Linked DNA regions of Homo sapiens: region 2 is linked to region 1. The links are contacts of gene promoters, found by promoter capture Hi-C in blood cells and fetal thymus (Javierre and others, 2016). All regions are on one chromosome and are shown on one strand. The core of a region is centred on a gene start or on the middle of the fragment in contact, and the rest is flanking DNA. Distances in the headings are between cores, read along the strand shown.

The links. Contacts are between HindIII fragments. The CHiCAGO score rates a contact against its expected background, and 5 or more counts as called.
Region 2: a fragment that was not itself captured here is called in contact with the fragment with the promoter of PRRT3 in region 1 in 1 of 17 cell types (activated CD4 T cells); the score reaches 5.8 in activated CD4 T cells.

The regions. Positions count from the first base shown.
Region 1 is chr3:9,950,845-9,953,994 of GRCh38, forward strand. PRRT3 (proline rich transmembrane protein 3) reads right to left here and starts at 1,564. Exons shown (of 4, transcript NM_207351.5): 1 at 1,478-1,564. All of the region lies in intron 3 of PRRT3-AS1 (PRRT3 antisense RNA 1), which reads left to right. RefSeq lists a silencer at 1,063-1,602. The HindIII fragment of the contact is 9,295 bases long and covers 1,050-3,150 here.
Region 2 is chr3:9,379,935-9,383,084 of GRCh38, forward strand. THUMPD3 (THUMP domain 3 tRNA guanosine methyltransferase) reads left to right here. Exons shown (of 10, transcript NM_001114092.2): 7 at 569-684. Among named protein-coding and RNA genes, the nearest start is that of THUMPD3-AS1, 15 kb to the right of the region's middle. The HindIII fragment of the contact is 6,287 bases long and covers 1-3,150 here.

The DNA.
Region 1 (3,150 bases), core at 314-2,813:
TGGAGAGGGAGAGGAATATGCACCGGCCTTTGGCGAGGGGCCTGAGTTTGAATCCCAGTGTCTTCATTTCCTGGGGGAGTCATTTCACCTCTCTGCATCATAGTTTTCCCATCAGTAAAATGGGGATAATAAGCATGCCTAACTCAAGGCATGAGACAAATAACCAAACAGGTATGGGCGAGGTTCATACCTGATGCTTGACAAGCGTTACACATTCCTCTTCCCGCCTTCCTTCCCTCATCTTCCTGGGCACTTGTCACTCTGGTCTGATTCTATAATAATCTCCTGCCTCTTATTTCAAACCTGCAGCCTCCAGTATATACCTGGCCCCACGTGGATATCCCCTAAAAGTTCCTGTTCTCGAGAGCCTGTCAGTGGGCCAGGGAGGCAGGAAGGGGCCCCACCACCAGGAGAGGTTTCATGGAGGGTGCGAGAGCTGAAGCCTGGGTGTGTTTGGCGGCAGAGGCCCTGCTCTTTTCCTCTCTGGGGAGCAGCTGTCCCCAAAGCTTCCTGGCTGTTAACCCATGGTGGCTCACAGACACCTTAAGAAGCCACTGAAAACCCCTGGTGCTCTCCCGGGGAAAAGACCCAGGCTCACCGAAAGTTGTGAACAATTTCAAGGGGTTCAAAGACCTTTGAGTCCCATCCTCCAAACTCGAGTTTAGACTCTGTCTTAAAGCCTTGTTAGTTCATTTCTCAAACATTCACGGAGCCCCATGGGCTGCTCCTGGTCTAGGCTAGGTGCTGGGGGCCCAGAGACAGGGCTTTGCTCCAGGGTTGGGAGTAGGGGTGCGCTGAGACGCCCCTAACACAGGTACTGGCTAAAAACAGTGCTCCTGTGTTTAGTTCTTTCCCAGTGAGGCTCCTGCGCTGAGCTTAGCAACACGTCACTCCGCCCTCCCAATACAAGGTGTGGGAACAGCCATTTCACAGGGGGAAGAAACGGGGGTTCAGAGAGGGTGAGCAACTCCCCCAAGGTCACACAGCTGAGTGGACACAATCGGGGTTGTGAAACCCTCGGAGGCTCATCTTCCACAGGAGGTCCAAAAAGCTTTGCCGAGAAAACGGCTGAATGGGGCCTCCAAAGATAAACATGCCATCTGCCTACCACTGCCAACCCAAGAGATGTGGGCACCTGCGGACAAGGCGGGGGCTTGCCCAGCCCTGGGCTCCCACTCTGCTGGAGAGGCTGTGGGGGGTGGCGGATCTCTCTGCCGCAGGGACTGGGGAGAGGCCGGCCTGGGGGCAGGGCGAGGCCGTTGCGGGGCAGCCTCGGAGCTGGTCCATCTCGGGTTACCTCTCCTCCTCCTCCTCCTCCTCCTCCGTCTCCTCTCTCCCTGGCTCCGCGCCTTCCCGCAGTGTCCTGGATGGGGGTGGGCGCCGTGCAGGCCTGGTCGCCTGCGCCCGCGACGGGGGCAGCAGGCCACGCTCCCCGTCGGGGTCCCGCCATCGCCCCCTCCCTGGGCCAGCTCCTCACCTGCGCGCCGCAGCCCCCGTGTTCACCTTGCGCGCGTCCCTGCAGCCGATCGCCGCGCCGCATCCTCCGAGATGCTCAGACTCGGCTAACAGAGCCCGGCGCTGCCGATCGCGAGCCCGCCCACAGGAGCGCAGCCCTGCTTAACTCTTTCCCCTTAGGGGTGGACTCTTCTGTCAACCCTGACTTCCCCTCGCTCAGGGATTGTCAGGGCTCAGAGTGGAACCGAGGTCATCTCTGAGGGATGTGGAAATGTCTTCTGCAGCATCCCTGAAAACGGGGCAGCTAGCCTCTGCTTGCATACCTCATGGGACGGGGAGCTCACTTCCTTTCTATATCCCTACATCCTTTTAGGTAAATCCTACCTACAGCTTGGTATGTATCCTTCAGATTCTTCTCAATGTACAGTTACATGTACATCTTAAATAGAAATGACATCATACTGTATACTTTTTTTTTTTTTTTTTGAGACAGTCTTGCTCTGTCGCCCAGGCTGGAGTGCAGTGGCGTGATCTCGGCTCACTGCAACCTCCGCCTCCCAGGTTCAAGTGGTTCTCCTGCCTCAGCCTCCCTAGTAACCATGCCTGGCTAATTTTTATATTTTTAGTGGAGACAGGGTTTCACCATGTTGGCCAGGGTGGTCTCGAACTCCTGACCTCAGGTGATCAGCCCGCCTCGGACCCCCAAAGTGTTGGGATTACAGGCGTCAGCCACCGTGCCCAGCCACTGTACACATTTCTGTAATTTGTCTTTTTCACTTTCCAATATATTCTGGCACATTTTTCATGTAAATATCTATAGATCTATATCATTTCTTGTATCCACTGTTGAGAATTCCAGCATATGGTCAGCTAGTTATTGTTCTTTATCCTGTCCCCTGTAATTGGACATAGGTTGTTTCTAGCCTTTTGCTCGCAGGGATAATGGAGCAGGGGCCATTCCTTGCTTAACACATCACTGTGCACGTACACTAGTGCACCTACCAGATAATTGCCTAGCCGAGGCATGGTAGTAAAATCTATGGGTCTGCATATGGGGCTGGTAGACACTGTCAAAATGTTCTTGGTCTTTCTTTGAACACCTCTTGATATACTAAACATCCATTATTAGGCTCAATTCCTTAAGGGAAAGCCACACAGGAAATATATGTGGTTATCAAAAATGAGATAGGGCTGGGTGCAGTAGCTCACACCTGTAATCCCAGCACTTTGGGAGGCCTAGAGAGGAGGATCATTTTGAGCCCAGGAGTTCAAGACCAGCATGGGCAAGATGGTGAGACTTTTTTAAATTAAAAAACAAACAAAAAAACAAAAAAACTAGCTGGGCGTGGTGGTACATGCCTGTAGTCCTACCTACTCCAGAGGCTGAGGCCAGAGAATCATTTGAGCCCAAGAGGTCAAGATTGCAGTAAGCTATGGCCACTGGAGTGTCACTGGAGTGCATTGACCACTCTGTCCATTGACCACAAGCTGTGTCACTGGAGTGCAATGACCACTGCACTCCAGCCTGGGCAGTAGAGCGAGACTGACAAAAAAAAAAAAAAAAAAAAAAAAGAAGAAGAAGAAGAAGAAGAAAATTTGGCCTGTATAATGGCTCATGCCTATATTCCCAGCACTTTGGGAGGCCAAGGCTGGAGGACTGCTTGAACCCAGGAGTTCGAGACCAGCCTGGGCAAC
Region 2 (3,150 bases), core at 297-2,796, 570 kb before region 1:
CTGCCTCAGCTTCCCAAAGTGCTGGGATTTCAGGTGTGAGCCACCATGCCCGGCCGGAAATAGCATTTTATTTTGCAATTTTCAAATATATCAGATTATGTAAACTCCCACAACCACAAATCTCAAATATTTTCAAACCGCATTAACTTAGAATTTAGTGTGCCAGACACTGCTGGATGAGGAACTGAATAAAATACTAGACCTGACCTCAGAGAGCTCCCAGGTTAGTTGAGAGGCATAAAGGGGAAGAAATAATTAACCGTGGGACAAGTGCAGTGGCAGAGGTACGTACATACAAAGTGTTTTTGGGAGGGGCACATAAGACTGCTTGGAGAGTTAAGGTTGATGTTGAAAGGGCATGAGGTTTGAGCTGGGTCTTAAGAGATGGGTAGAGGTTCAGCAAGCAGAGAAAGAATAAGAGGGCATTTTCAGCCAGGGAAATAGCACAGTTGACAACATGCAATGTTTTGCCACTCTAGAAAAGCACTGGATTTTCTTTGTTTGTTGACAATTTAATCATATTTTACAGTTTGCTACTTTTGTTTTAACATACACTCTTATCTTTTAGGGGGCCACTGAATGGTCTGACTGTTTCCATATTGCTGGTGATAATAATCCACTGGCTGTGAATAGAGCAGCAAATAACATTGCATCTTTATTGACCAAGAGCCAAATTAAAGAAGGGTAAAAATTTAAAAGATTTCTTAGCATCTTTTAGAGTTAGAGAATCACTTTTTATATTGACTTTATGAATTAAAACTCCCAGTGCATTGTGACGTCATTGTAACCAAAATGAATATACTATGAGACTCCATTTACATTTTTAAAGTTTATTGAAAATAAGTTATATTTTTAAAATATTATTTTAGCGATAATTTCCCCACCATATGCAATTTTTCATTTGTCTTATTCATATGTCTTTTCCCCTACATATTGGAAGAATATTTTATAGACTCATTTTAATTTCACAAAATTTTAAACAGTATATTTTTACATAGGCTTCTTTTTTGCTTTGGGTACAGGGTCTCATTTTGTCACCCAGGCTGGAGTGCAGTGACATGATCATGGCTCACTGTAGCCTCAACCTACTGAGCTCAAGCAATCCTCCTGCCTTGGCCTCCCTAGTAGCTAGGAATACAGGCATGTGCCACCATGCCCAGCTAATTTTTTAAAATCTTCGTAGAGATGGGGGTCTTGCTGTTTTGTCCAGGCTGGTGTCAAACTCCTGGCCTCAAGAGATTCTGCCGCTTCAGCCTTCCAAATTGCTGGGATTAGAGACGAGTCACCACACCTGGACCATAGTCTTTAAAGTCACTACATAAATTCCATCGTATAGAAATACTGCAGTTTATATAGCCTCGCCTCTATTTTATTACTAAGTCATTGGTTATATATTTCATTGTCTCTCTGATCTAATTTTTTAGGACAGTGCTTCTCAAACATTAATGTACATGTGAATCACCTAGGAGTACTGTTAACACAGATCTGATTTAGTAGTTTGGGATGGGACCTAAGAGTCTGCATTTTCCAGGAAACTCCAGGACAATGCTGATGCTGCTGGTCTATGTATCAACATTAAATCCTTTTACGTGTATTAAGACAAGTAGTTGGAAGGCTTCAATTTTCTTAAATACTGATTTATTGTGATGAATTAATTTTGAATGGTTGTTTCATATTTATTGAGGGTTTTTTTTAATGAGCCTAGTATATGGCCAGTCTTTTTTTTTTTTAATTAAAACTGATAAACATTTAAACAAACGTACCTTTCTAGCTTCTGAATATTTTATCTTGTTTGTACCTACACTGTCTGTTCAACCCGTACTTTTTTTTTTTTTTTTTTTTTTTTTTTTTTTTTTTTTTTTTGAGACGGAGTCTCACTCTGTCGCCCAGGCTGGAGTGCAGTGGCTTGATCTCGGCTCACTGCAAGCTCCGCCTCCCGGGTTCACGCCATTCTCCTGCCTCAGCCTCCCAAGTAGCTGGGACTACAGGCACCCGCCACCATGCCCGGCTTATTTTTTTTTTGTATTTTTAGTAGAGACGGGTTTTCACCATGTTAGCCAGGATGGTCTCAATCTCCTGACCTCATGATCTGCCCACCTTGGCCTCCCAAAGTGCTGGGATTACAGGCATGAGCCACTGTGCCCGGCCTCAACCTGTACATTTCTATCCATTTTACTTTGGTTTTTAATATTTTTTGCCTTTTGTTTTGTGCAGTTATTGGTATGCGGTTATAATACATATTTTATGTGTACTTTTAAAAATTATGTAATGATTGCTTTTATTGCATTTTTTTCTTAAATTCTTCATTAAATGTCAATTAAATCCTTAATTTCTGCTGATAACCTTTGACTTATCTTCAGTTCTTAGCCTGTGCATTATTTTGTTTCTTAAACCAGTTGCTTTGCCTTAATGAGGAGGATTTAAATCCTTTGTATTTATTATTATTCATTCTGTCTTCTGTCATCTATATTTTTTATCTTAACTTTTTTCTTAGTCTTGTTTTATATAGCATGGCACATATTTTCCTTTTGGTTTTTCATCTTGAAACAATTACCTATATATTTGCCAATTTTACTATCTGTTTTTCTTTTAGGCCTCCTGTTATTACTAGTTTTACAAACTTTATTCTTCAGATACATCACCCCATTATCTATTCTTTAGTATTGTTTTTCTCCAGTGTATGTTTTATCAGCAACTTAAATTTTTGTATCATCGGTTATGTAATTTACTGCTTCAGCATTGTTTTTAAAGTTGTCTTTTGCAGTTCTCTGCATTACAATCATGTTTTCAGTTTGTTTCCCTTTTTTCTGAGACGGGGGTCTTGCTCTGTCACCCAGGCTGGAGTAAAGCGGCACAATCCTAGCTCACTGCATCTTTCAACTCCTGGACTCAAGTGATCCTCCCACCTCAGCCTCCTGAGTAGCTGGGACTATAGGTGTGTGCCATCATGCCCTGCTAACTTCTTAAAAAAGTATTTTAGAGACAAGGTCTCACAGTGTTGCTCAGCTGGTCTCAAATTCCTGGAGTCCAGTGATCCTCCCACCTCAGCCCCTGAAAGTGCTGATTATAGGCACAAGCTACCATGCCCAGCCTGACCTATTTTTTACCTTTGTGCCATTTCTTAAATTTTGAATAGGTTGATATTATCAC